Linked DNA regions of Homo sapiens: all the other regions are linked to region 1. The links are contacts of gene promoters, found by promoter capture Hi-C in blood cells and fetal thymus (Javierre and others, 2016). All regions are on one chromosome and are shown on one strand. The core of a region is centred on a gene start or on the middle of the fragment in contact, and the rest is flanking DNA. Distances in the headings are between cores, read along the strand shown.

Evidence for each region. The method cuts DNA at HindIII sites, captures the fragments that hold promoters and counts their contacts. A CHiCAGO score of 5 or more calls a contact.
Region 2: a fragment that was not itself captured here is called in contact with the fragment with the promoter of WDR20 in region 1 in 3 of 17 cell types (total CD8 T cells, fetal thymus and total B cells); the score reaches 8.3 in total CD8 T cells.
Region 3: a contact is called between a fragment that was not itself captured here and the fragment with the promoter of WDR20 in region 1, in 1 of 17 cell types (fetal thymus). The highest score is 5.0, in fetal thymus.

The regions. Positions count from the first base shown.
Region 1 is chr14:102,137,474-102,141,925 of GRCh38, forward strand. It overlaps WDR20 (WD repeat domain 20), which reads left to right and starts at 2,424. Exons shown (of 3, transcript NM_144574.4): 1 at 2,424-2,699. The coding sequence starts at 2,451. It also overlaps a transcript of HSP90AA1 not described here. RefSeq lists a silencer at 1,664-1,859 and enhancers at 2,460-2,509, 2,520-2,679. The HindIII fragment of the contact is 7,184 bases long and covers 1,307-4,452 here.
Region 2 is chr14:101,699,682-101,704,133 of GRCh38, forward strand. All of the region lies in intron 1 of LINC02320 (long intergenic non-protein coding RNA 2320), which reads right to left. Among named protein-coding and RNA genes, the nearest start is that of LINC00239, 29 kb to the right of the region's middle. The HindIII fragment of the contact is 2,402 bases long and covers 1,509-3,910 here.
Region 3 is chr14:101,732,490-101,736,941 of GRCh38, forward strand. It overlaps LINC00239 (long intergenic non-protein coding RNA 239), which reads left to right. Exons shown (of 4, transcript NR_026774.1): 4 at 1-36. Among named protein-coding and RNA genes, the nearest start is that of LINC02320, 3.4 kb to the left of the region's middle. The HindIII fragment of the contact is 5,667 bases long and covers 1-4,452 here.

The DNA.
Region 1 (4,452 bases), core at 1,174-3,673:
TGTCACCACGCCTGGCTAATTTTTGTACTTTTAGTAGAGATGGGATTTCACCATGTTGGCCAGGCGGTCTCAAACTCCTGACCTCGTGATCTGCCCGCCTCGGCCTCCCAAAGTGATGGGATTACAGGTGTGAGCCAACACGCCCAGCCATTCAGGCCTAGTTATTTAGATTTGGGTGTTGCTTATTGAATCTTTGAATATGGAGGAAAAGTTATGAGATAAAAAGAATAAAAATAGAGACTATTCAAAGGCTATGCATGGGACTGGGCACTGTGGCTCATGCCTGTAATACCAGCACTTTGGGAGGCCAAGGTGGGTGGATCAGCAGGTCAAGAGATCAAGACCATCCTGGCCAACATGGTGAAACCCCATCTCTACTAAAAATACAAAAATTAGCTGGGCGTGGTGGTGCACATCTGTAGTCCCAGCTACTCGGGAGGCTGAAGCAGGAGAATCGCTTGAACCTGGGAGGCAGAGGTTGCAGTGAGCCAAGATTGCACCACTGCACTCCAGCATGGCGACAGCGAGACTCCATCTAAGAAAAAAAAAACAAAACTAAACCAAAGGCTATGCATGAGACAAAGTGAACAGTTTATTACTGTGATTATAATAAAATGTTGAATTTATATAGGGTAAAATCTTGATAGAATGCTTGAATTATATAGGTATTATGGGAAATACAATGTTATGGTTAATTGAAGAATAATACAAAATTTTGTTTTAACTTTTGCTCGCTGGGTTTTTTTCCCCCCCCAAAAATTATACTTTTTTTCCTCTTGATAATTAGGAAACACAGATAAATTATTTTTAGATGATTCAAGATGCCACTATCCTTCAAGTTGATTATTGTAAAATACGTGTTTTCAATGTAAAATAACACAGTTATGGAGTTTGGGATATAGCCATGGTAACGACAGAACATACCCTGGTGTTTTAAGATTAGGGAAAGTCGGATAACATCAAAACAATTCTAAGAAAAAATTTTAAGTATTTTTCAGGCTCTATTAATTAAGAAGTACTTCAGTGCTTTTTTTTCTTTTTTTTTTCCAACACTACAAAGGCTAAAGATGTTATTATCAAATGTATTACTACATCATTGGCACAGTTTCTATTGGTATCTACTTGCTTTTTAATACGGAAGATGTTTATGATTTACACTCCTCCTACTTTAGAAATTCTCTCCATTCACTTCTTTTGTGCCCCTCCAGATATAATCTGAACTTCCAGGAATAGATCATTCTTGGTGTTACAAATGTTGGCTTCCCCCCTCCCTGGAATTCTATTAGAATGTTTCTGTCACTTTAGAAGCTTTCTTATTCTGGTGTAACATGCCAAGAAACCCAGGTATAAAATAGTGATTGTTGAATCTTACTTTGACACGTGTGCCCGTCCTTATAAATCTAGACCCTGTACATTACATGCATACAACTATCCCTATGGATCTACTAGTAAATAATCTCACAGACTCCACCTGAGGCTTCTGGAAAAAAAAACAATTACCTTAAATTTTATTAAGAGCTCTTCGTAACCTACTGAGCAAGATCAGTGAATCCTAAAAAGATTCAGTCCCCGGTTCCCAAAGCGCTTCCCCGCCCCGTGTTTCTGAACAGCTGGAGAGGACAAACCTCCGCTAAGAAGCGGAGGCCGCCAGTGCTCATCACACGCAGGAATTAGGATATCTGGCTTGAGAACACCTATGCTGTACCACATTCTTCTCTCCCCCTACCCCGCCTGAAATAAAACATAGTGAAGCGTAAATCTTGAGTCCCTTGGTACCTTCTCAGAAACGGCGGCGAGGAGGCTTCAGAGGGGCTTCCTGGGCGGGGATCCAGACGGTCGCGCGGGTATTCAGCACTCTGGGCGGGACAGTCCCTGTCCCGAAGGGAGGGCCCAGGAGGGGTGGAGCCGTCCCCGCCCGAACACGGGGGCATCCGCGCTCCCCGTAGGGTACCCCGCGTGCTGGCTCCGAAGCGGTGGCCGTCGGGGTGGCGCTCTTCCTCCGCTCTTTGGGGTCCCGGCGCCCCTCAGGGCAGGGCGGGAGACCGCTGAGGAGGCACCCTCAAGTTCACCTCAGGCTCATGACACCAGCCCCGCCGCGGTTCCCCCTGACCGGCTTTCCGCTGGCCCTGGCGGCTGCGGAACGGTCAACTAGACCCCACTAGCTGAAGCCGGCATCACCTGGGAAGCAGCCATGCCGCCCGGAGGCCACACCCGGGGGAGGAGCCTGCGGACGCCCAGTCGGGTGGAGCACGCCAGGTGAGCACGCCTGCGCAGTCGGGCCGTAAACAAGCCCACCCCTTCCCTTTGGCCCGCCCTCGCAGGGCTGGCCCGCGGGTGGGAGGGGCGAGAAGGAAGAGGCAGGGGGTGGGGGAAGAGGGAGCACCAGGAACAGCGCCTGCGCGGTGGGCGTGATCCGGGCACTTAGGGCAGGATGAACGCTGCTTTCCAAGATGGCGACGGAGGGAGGAGGGAAGGAGATGAACGAGATTAAGACCCAATTCACCACCCGGGAAGGTCTGTACAAGCTGCTGCCGCACTCGGAGTACAGCCGGCCCAACCGGGTGCCCTTCAACTCGCAGGGATCCAACCCTGTCCGCGTCTCCTTCGTAAACCTCAACGACCAGTCTGGCAACGGCGACCGCCTCTGCTTCAATGTGGGCCGGGAGCTGTACTTCTATATCTACAAGGGGGTCCGCAAGGTACCGACCCGGGCGTCACCGGAGCCAGCCAGCGGCGTAGGCAGAGGCCGGGAGCAGGGCGGTGACAGTGGGGCCAGGGTGACCGAGAGGGGTGGCCGTCGCTCTTACTTTTGAGTGGGCCGGTAACTCCACTGGGGTACTCCTGAGGAGAGGGGATTCAGGAGTAAGGAGGGTGGTGGCGGTGGCGTTTCGAAGGGGTGGGGGCAGTGGAAAGGGACCGTGGGGCGCGGGGGTTCTGGCTGGGAGGCTCCCGGGGGAGCCGGCTGCGTCCCCTCCAGCCTGGTCCATCAGGCTCTGACATGGCCAGGGAGCGGGCCTGCGAGTCCCCGGAAGAGGTGAGGTGGCCGTCTTGTCTGCTTCGATTGCCTCGCCTCCCTGGAGGGTTGGAAGTCTCGCCCTGGGTTAGAGAACAGGGACGCAAGACGGCTTAACAAGATCTCTGTAAGGCGGAACCGGGGCCGGGAAGCGGAGCATTGAGACTAGGTCAGAAAGAACCTGCTCGGCACGCAGGGCTACTCCACCTGCTGCCGCACTGACACTTCCTAGGAGCCTCTCCTGGTGTTAACATTTCTATTTCCAAAAACATCCGCGGGAGGACGGCTGTCACTGTCTCCGCCGTGGGGACCTTCTGAAAGATTGTTAAGGAGAGTCATCTTGTCCCTTGTAGTATGCGAAGGGCTGAGTACTACAGTTGAAATGATGTTTCCAGTGAACTAAGCTGGTTCAGAGGGGTTGTGTGAGAGTGCCCAGATTAATCTTGTCCAACAAGTCAGACTGTGTCCCAAACAGGGAGTGATATGCTTTAAAAGCTGCTTTAAAGGGACCATCCTTCTTGGCGGGCGAGTTACCGGTAATTCTGTGAAACATGTAAGCATCCTTTAAAAGTATCTCTTTAAAAGCAGCCATTTATTAGAGTTTTTCTTTCATTGGCTATGTAACTATGTTTTCACTGAGAATTGCTTATTTTTGAGATTGTAGTCTTTGACTTGATGTCATGGAAGAGTGAGGAAATTAATGCATCCCACAGCACCTCCAAATAGGACAAGGTGATAAAAGATTAAGTCGTAAATGCATGTTAGCATGAAAATAAATTGTTCATATTGAAGAGTGAACATTCTTCAGGATTTAATATAGCCAGATCCAGTACAGGATTTTCGCTTGTTACAAGAGCTAGGGAAATGACAGTGGTATCTAAATGTAGCAAAGTTGTTTCTTTGATTCAGGGTGAATCTTTTTTTCTTAGTCTTTATGATAATAAGTGTACCACTGTATTTAGGGTATGCTGTTGGAAGTTATTAAGGGTAAATCGCTTGACCTTTTTTTTTTCCTCGTTTGGAATTGCAAAAGCTCGAAGTAGTCTTCAGTCTAGGGGCTGAAGTTTTACTCCTACTCCCAACTTTGTCACTGACTTGTTTGGGTGACCTTGGATAAGTTATTTAACTTCTATTTGCACCTCTTTAAAAAGGGAATGTTACAGTGCACGTTGTAATTAATAATATAATAATCATAATGAACTTTAAGGCCCTGAAACACTCAGTAGATGTAAAATATAGTTAAATACTGACTGTCAAATAAGAAGCTGCTGTCTTGACATTGATAATCAGAGTGAAAGGACCAATTTTGTCTCAGGAAATTAAGTTTAGAATTTTAAGTTATAAAAATTTATATTTATATAAAAATACGATGTGCTTAAAAACTAAATTCACTAACTAGCAATTATTAATGTAGGAATTACTTAAAAATTTTTTTTTCT
Region 2 (4,452 bases), core at 1,460-3,959, 440 kb before region 1:
CCTGATTTTAAATTATACTACAGAGCTATAGCAATGAAGTAACAAAAACAGGATGGTACTGACATAAAAACAGACACATAGACCAATGGAACAGAATAGAGAACCCAGAAATAAATCCATACAGCCACAGTGAACTCATTTTCAACAAAGCTTTCAAGAACATGTATTGAGAAAGGGATTGTCTCGTCAGTAAATTGTGCTGGGAAAACTGGATGTTCATATGCAGAAGAATGAAACCAGATCGCTCTCTCACCATACACAAAAATCAAATCAAAATGGATTAAAGACTTAAATCTAAAACCTGAAACTATGAAACTACTAAAAGAAAACATAGGAGAAACTCTCCAGGACATTGGTACGAACAAAGATTTCTTGAGTAATACTTCACAGGCACAGGCAACCGAAGCAAAAAATGGACAAATGGAATCACATTTTAAAAAATCACATCATTAAAAAGCTTCTGCATAGCAAAGGAAACTAGCAACAAAGTGAAGAGACAATCCACAGAATGAGAGAAAATATTTGCAAACTATCCATCTGACAAGGGATTAATAACCAGAATATATAAGGAGCTCAAACAATTCAATAGGAAAAAAAATCTAACAATTTGATTTAAAATGGGCAAAAGATTGAATAGACATTTCTCAAAAGAATACATCCAAATGGCAAACAGCTATGTGAACAGGTGCTCAACATCACTGATCATCAGGGAAACACAAATCAAAACTCCAATGAGACATCATCTCATACTAGTTAAAATAGCTTTTATCTAAAAGGCAGGAAATAATGAATGCTGGAGTGTTGAGAAAGGGAACCCTCGTACACTGTTGGTGGGAATGTAAATTAGTGCAGCCACTTGGAAAACAACATGGAGCTTCCTCAGAAAACTAAAAATAGACAGGGCGCAGTGGCTCCTGCCTGCAATCCCAGCACTTTGGGAGGCCAAGGCGGGTGGATCACCTGAGGTCAGGAGTTCGAGACCAGCGTGGCCAACACAACGAAACCCTGTCTCTACTAAAAATGCAAAAAATAGCCGGGCATGGCGGTGCGTGCCTGTGATCCCAGCTACTCAGGAGGCTGAGGCAGGAGAATCTCTTGAACCTGGGAGGTGGAGGTTGCAGTGAGCCAAGATCATACCACTGCACTCCACCCTGGGCAACAGAACGAGATTCCATCCCAAAAAAGAAAAAAATAATCAAAAAACAAAAAGAAAACTAAGAATAGAACTACCATAGGATCCAGCAATCCCACTGATAGGGATATACCTAAAAGAAAGTAAATCAGTAAATCAAAGAGATGTCTGCACTCTCATGCATTGCAGCACTATTCACAATATCCAAGATTTGGAACCGAGGTGTCCATCAACAAAAGAATAAATAAAATGTGGTACATATGCACAATGGAGTACTATTCAGCCATAGAAAAGAATGAGATTCTGTCATTTGCAACCACATGGATGGAAATGGAGGACATTATGTTAAGTAAAATAAGCCAGGCACAGAAAGACAAGCTTTACATGTTCTCACTCATTTGTGGGAGCTAAAAATTAAAACCATGGAATTCATGGAGATGAGAGTAGAATGATGGTTACTGGAGGCTGGGAAGGGTAGAAAGGGGTGGAGGGTAGGGACAGTTAAGGAGTACAAAGATATATTCAGATAGAATGAATAAGATATAGTATTTGATAGCACAACAGGGTGACTAAAGTCAACAATAATGTATTAAATATTTTTAAAATAACTAAAAGAGTATAATTGGATTGTTTGTAACACCAAAAAAATGATAAATGCTTGAAGTGATGAACACCCCATTTCCCCTGATGTGATTATTACAAATTGCATGCCTGTATCAAAATATCTCATGTACCGCATAGATACATACACTGCTATGTACCCACAAAAATTAAAAATAAAGATAAATGAATAAGATATAAAAAGCAATAGGGGAAACTGAATGAAGGGCATATGAGAAACTCTTTGTGTCATCTTTGCAACTTCTCTGTAAATCTAAAAAAAAAAATCAGAGTAATTCACTACTTGTGATGGTTAATTTTATGTATCAACTTGACTGAGCCACAGGTGGCTCAGATATTTAGCCAAACATTATTCTAAGTATGTCTGTGAGGGTGTTTCTGGATGAGATTAACATTTCAATCAGTAGACTGAGCACAACAGATTGCCCTCCCCAATGTGGGTGGACCTCACCCAATCAACTGAAGACTTAAGTAGAATAAAAAGATTGAGTAAGAGGGAATGCCTCCTACCAGACTTGTTGACCTGAGACATTGGTCTTGCAGGCTTTTGGGCTCAGAGAGAAACATAACTCTTCTTAGGTCTTGAGGCTGCTGGCCTTTGGATCAGCAGCTCTCCTGGTTCTCCACCTTGCCCACTGCAAATCTTGGGACTTCTCAGCCTCCATTATCACATGAGCCAATTCCTTATAGCAAATCTATATCTATCTAACTATCTATCTATCTATCTATCTATCTAATATGGTTTGGCTCTGTGTCCCTGCCCAAATCTCATCTTGTAGCCCTACCAGGGCACTGCCTAGTGGAGCTGTGAGAAGAGGGCCACCATCCTCCAGATCCCAGAATGGTAGATCTACTGACAGCTTGCACCATGTGCCTGGAAAAGCTGCAGACACTCAACACCAGCCCATGAAAGCAGCCAGGAGGGAGGCTGCACCCTGCAAAGGGGCGGAGCTGCTGAAGACTATGGGAACCTACCTCTTGCATCCACATGACCTGGATGTAAGACGTGGACTCAAAGGAGATCATTTTGGAGCTTTAAGATTTGACTGCCATGCTGGATTTTGGACTTGCATGGGGCCTGTAGCCTCTCTGTTTTGGCCAATTTCTCCCATTTGGAATGGTTGTATTTACCCAGTGCCTATACCTTCATTGTATCTAGGGGCAGAATGATATGGTTTGGCTCTGTGTCCCCACCAAAATCTCATATTGTAGCTCCCATAATTCCCACGTGTTGTGGGAGGTACGCAGTGGGAGATGATTGAATTATGGGGCAGGTCTTTCCCATGCTGTTTCATGATAGTGAATGAGTCTCATGAGATCTGATGGTTTTGAAAACAGGAGTTGTCCTGCACAAGCTCTCTCTCTTTGTTTGCTGCCATCCACATAAAATGTGACTTGCTCCTCCTTGCCTTCCTCCAGGATTGTGAGGCCTCCCCAGCCATGTGGAACAGTAAGTCCAATAAACCTCTTTCTTTTGTAAATTGCCCAGTCTCAGGTATGTCTTCATCAGCAGAATGAAAATAGACTAATTATCTATCTATCTATCTATCTATCTATCTACCTACCTATCTATATCTATCCACCTATACCTATATCTATCTATCTATATCTCTCTATCTACCTATCCTATTAGTTCTGTTTCTCTCTGAAAAACCCTAACTAATACACCATATTCACAGAAAGAAAAAAATGAGAAAACTCCCATGATTATCTCAATAGATGCAGAGAAGGCATTTAACAAAATTAATGATTAAAAACTCTTAGAAAACTAAGAATAAAATAACACTTCCATGATCTGAAAAAGAAGTCTACAGAAACCATCATAGGAATTGGTAAAATGTTGAAAGTTTTCTCCCTGAAACCAAGAACAAGACAAAGATGTCCATTATCACCACCTCTATTCAATATTGTATTGAAGGTCTTAGTCAGTGTAGAAGGACAAAGAATGGAGATGAAAGGCATCCACGTAGAAAAGAAAACTATAAAACTGTTATTATTTGCAAATAACATGATTGTGTTATTAGAAAATCCAAATGAACCTACCAATAAATGATTTTCAGTAATAAGTGCATTTAGCAGCATTGCCGTATACAAGGTCAATATACAAAAATCACTTGTATTTCTACATGCCAGCAACAAATGTTAGAAACTTAGAAAAGCTTTTGAAAAACATAAAACACTCTTAGGTGAATGAATATAATGAAAGATGTATAAGACTTCTATGCTGAAAACTACAAAACACTATTAAGGGAAATTAAACCCTAAATAAATAAAGAATATATACTATGTTAATCATTGAAAGGCTCATTATTTTTAGATGTGAAATTCTCCCCAAAATCATTTAAATATTTCATATAATCACATCCAATTCCCAGGAGAAGTCGCTTTTGGTGGAAAATGATAACCTAACTCTAAAATGTGTATGAAAATGCAAAGGCTGAGAATAACCAAGGTGATCCTGAAGAAGGAGGAGGCAGACGATGAGGATGAGAAGGAGAAAACTGAAGGTAATTAAGACACTGTGATATTGGTACAAAGGTAGAAATATAAACCAACAGAAAAAGAGTTTAGAAACTGATTCGAAAATATACAATCCCCTGATTTATGACAAGGACACAGGAGAACACTGGAGATGTGAGGGTCTTGTCAGTAAATGCTGGTGTTAATTGGATATATATTTGGGAAAAAAAAAAAAGGTA
Region 3 (4,452 bases), core at 1,135-3,634, 410 kb before region 1:
ATCAAAATAATAAAAACTCAGTCTGCAAAGGGAGAAGAATAGAAACCAGCAGATTTATTATTTCACAGAATGTTCCTCTCCTCTCAGGTAAACATGCCTAATAATATCTGCTTAACTAATGAGCACCCGCATTGTCAGTGGGGCCTTGACTCTGACGACGTAATGCATTTCTGTGCCATTGCACCCCCCACCCATCTCGGAGAGCATCTGAAAATTAAGTGGGGCAGATGTAATTATGCATCTAATATGCAAGGTACATGTGCATGTAGAAGTGTGCATTGTGTAAACAACTGTATCAAATCAACTGCATGTATCTGCTTGGCTCACGTCCTACAAGCACAATTTTCATTTTATTCCAGTTACTTCTTTTTTTTTTTTTTTTTTACAGAGTCTCACTGTGTTGCCCGGGCTGGAGTGCAGCAGCGCCATATTGGCTCACTGCAACCTCCGCCTCTCAGGTTCAAGCAATTCTCATGCCTCAGCCTCCCAAGTAGCTGGAATTACAGGCATGCGCCACCACACCCAGCTAATTTTTGTACTTTTAGTAGAGGTGGGGTTTCACCATGCGTTGGCTGGTCTCAAACTCCTCACTTCAGGTGATCTGCCCACCTTGGCCTCCCAAAGTCCTGGGATTACAGGCATCAGCCACCATGCCCGGCCTTCCAGTTACTTCTTGCTGGCTAATAAATCACCCCAGAACCAAGTGGCTTAAGACAGCCATGAGTGTTTTGTAACAAGCATTGGATGACTATTTCCCCCAGCCCTGGGGACTAACTAGGCTCAGCTTATCTGGGTCTTTCATCCAGTTGCAGTCAGTGGCTTGTGTTTGAGTCATCTGAAGGCTTCCTCACTCACACAGCTGGCATTGGTGTTGCCTGTTGGCTGGGATCCCAGCTGGGAGTGCTGGCCTCTGTGTGTGGACTGGGCTTCCTCCTAGCATGGCGGCTGTGTTCTGAGGCCCAGCGTCCTGAGAGAGGTGGGCAGAAGGTGTATTGCCTTTTACGGCCTAGTCTTGTCAGTCGTGTAAGTTTTACCAAACTCACAGGCCAGCCTGGTTTCAAGGAAGGGAACATAGTCCTACCTCTCAACAGGAGGACTATCATTGCCACATTGTAAAAAAGAGCATGCAGGATGGGAGGCCTTATTTTGGCCACCTTGGAAAGTGAAACCTGCCACACATACCTTCCAAGTATGAATAGTAAATCATTGTGTTTTCCTTAAACTTCATCTCTAAGGAGGCCTGCTGGATGATTATTTGTGAATCTAGTGGTCATCACTGTCTGTGTTATGAACTTACAATTAATGAGCATGCATTTTCTTGGACGATAATAATCCATAATTCTGACTTCTTACTATTCAGATTAATCTTCTTCCCACTTTCCCGGTAAGAGTGACTTTGCTGTATTTCGGGGCAGATTCATCCTCCAAGTTACCCTTGCTGCTCCTGAAGCTGAGCAGATTAGCTCCCCAGAAAATAGCATTTTCCCAGAGGTGCAGGTTGATTTTCTCACGTCCCTCTTTCCGCATGGGAAACAGACTGCAGTTGAGATTCACATGCAGCAGCCTTGGGCTATTTCGTTGAGAATCAAATCCGCAGAGATGTGGCATGAAAGGAAAGAAGGCGAGTGCACAGCATGCTCTGGGCTTTCAGGTCACTCAGTGCTCCTCGGAGCCGCACCAGACACAGAAGACAACACAGGCTCCACCTGGGGGACAGGTTCCACACGGTGTGGCCCAGCGTGACAGTGAGGGTTCCTCCCATAACCAGCACGGGGCTCTATGTAAGGCCATTCCCTCCCAAAGGAAACTCTTGCGAGATCATTTTTAAGGCTAGTTTCTAGTCTTCTAGCAACCGGGCTGGGTTAGAATTCATGCATTTTTTTAGACTTCCATCCTCAGCACTGAAGGCCCACTTCTGAGTGTGCTCCAAGCTGTGCCCAGGGCAGGGAGATGATTCAGACACAGCTGTGCCCTCCACAGGTCACAGGTGGGTGGAGAAGAGTCATCCCTGCCCACAGGGACAGTTGGTAACAGGGAAAAGGGAAGAACAGGGCTAAGGGAACCCAGGAAAAGCCCGAGTCAGGTGTTAGAGAAGCAAGCAGCCAGAGTGGGCTGAGGCGGGGGGACGCGGGGGGACGCAAGGGGACGTGGGGTGACGGGAGGCCTCCAGCAGGGGTGCAGCTGTGGAAACCCAAGGAGCGCTGCAAGCAACGTAACTAAGGCTGGGCGGGGAGGGGAAGAGATGAAGCTGAAGTCAGTGGAAACCAGATGGCCAAGGGCCTGGAGAGCCGAGCCAGGGGTGGAACTTCATCCTGAGGGCCGTGGCGAGCTACTAAAGGGATTTCAGGAGGGCAGTAATACCATAAGATTTTGGAGTTTTCATTTTTTGTTTTTTTTTGGTTTCGGGTTTTTTTTTCTGACATGGAGTCTTGCTCTGTCACCCAGGCTGGAGTGCAGTGGCGCAATCTCGGCTCACTGCAACCTTTACCTCCCAGGTTCAAGCAAGCCTCCTGCCTCAGCCTCTTGTGTAGCTGGGACTACAGGCGCCCACCACCATGCCAATTTTTGTATTTTTGTATTTTTAAGTAGAGACAGGATTTTGCTATGTCAGCCAGGCTGGTCTTGAACTCCTGACCTCAGGCGATCTGCCTGCCTTGGCGTCTCAAAGTGCTGCGATTACAGGCGTAAGCCACCAGGCTCAGCTAAGATTTGGGTTTTCAAGGGGTGGTGCTGGCTGCTGGGCACAGTGGAATTGAAGGAAAGAGAAGTGGATTCTGGGGAGGGCATGGTGGCCACTTCAGAAGCTGCAGGATTCAGAGTTTGAGAAGCCCCAGTGTGCATCAGACCCAGCACGTTGAAATGTACCCACTACAAAGAAAAGAAACTTTTTATCTGAGGAAGGCGAGCCCCCTTTAAATGATCAGGCCTAGAGAGGCACTGGAATGAGACAGCTGTCACATCTCACTGCCCCACCTGAGAAAAGAAATCTCCTGAGGCCGCTTGCTGTGTGGGCTCTAGGCTGACTGGTACCAGTAGCTATGGATGAACCTAACAATGCCACACACTGGACACCATAACCCGTGCCCTGTAGTTCAACAACATATAGATAATCACTCATCAATGTTATTTCTGTAAACCGATGAGAATTCCTGAAAAACAATTTCGCAATCGCCCCTTTCCTGATTTGTCCTCTTGTATTTAAAAGCTCGAGCCTCTCTTCTCTGGAGCACTTTCCAAGGTAACTTGGGAGTGCTTCCTGGACTACAGTCCTCAACTGTGGCCCAAATAAACTCTCTACCTGTGTTAATTTCGCTTCCATCTCTTTCTATTGGTCAACACCACAATCTACATTTGAAATGTCATTCTTCCATGCTAGAATATGTATTCGGAAAAAAAATTTTTTAATTTTTTTCTGAAGTTCCTTGGCTGTAATACATTTCATTGACTCTCGGCTGTGATCTGTGGACAATGACTGTGCACACCTACAGACTCACTCCTCATCTTCGTGAGGCTGGGATAAAGGTACACACGGAGGCTGGTCCCACATCTGTAAAGGCCTCACATGCATGGCTACGGGCATCTCGGCCCTCATGTCCGAGCTCCATCCACCCTGCCCCTTAATCAACTCTCCCAACCCCACCCCACCTCAGGTCCAGGATGAACATTCCAGCAGTGTGGTCTGCCCACAGGGGAGACCCAGGGAAGAGGCCTGCACAGTCCTTAGAAAAAGGCTTAGGGTTTGAGGGTGAGGAATCCCAGGATCCCAGACACCTGGTGTGGGCTTCAGGTGGGCTCGTGCCCTTGGCCTTCCCAGCTAAGTGGTTCTGCTGGAGGAGGCAGACCAGAGTGGGACCCTCAAAGTCACAGAGCCCTGGGCCGAGACCCCCAAATGCTCAACTTTAAGGGTGATACTATCCTCAGGAATCCTTGCAAAGTAGGAAAATTGAACCCAGTGATTGTTTTCAAGATAGCTTTATGTTAATACTCAATTTAACCAATTAAAGAAATCGACATAAAATCAACTAACCCCATATGTGGTTTTTTTTTTTTGTTTTTGTTTTTGTTTTTTTTGGCCCCTGACTTTTGTGGAGACCCATGAGATGCTTGGTCCTGAGCCTAACGGATGCAGGGGCCTGGCTGGGACCCAGCTGGGAAGCTGATGCTGTTCTCCAGGTGAGCGCTTTACCAAAGGCTGCTCGGAACACTGCCTGCCTCCAAACTGCTGCTTTCCTAACAGGTCACAAACACTTTGCAAGAAGCTGCAATCCGTCATCCCCTTCTGCTTGCATCCCCCCTCACATCTGCGGGTGGGAGAGAGGACAGAGCAGGGGGAAGCAGGAACTCTGAGGCTCCCACCTGGGGCACCCACACTTTGATGGGCAGGAGGTGCTCCTGGCCCGCTGGGTGGGACCTCTCCCAAGAGGTCCATATGCCAACCTGGACGCTGGGGAC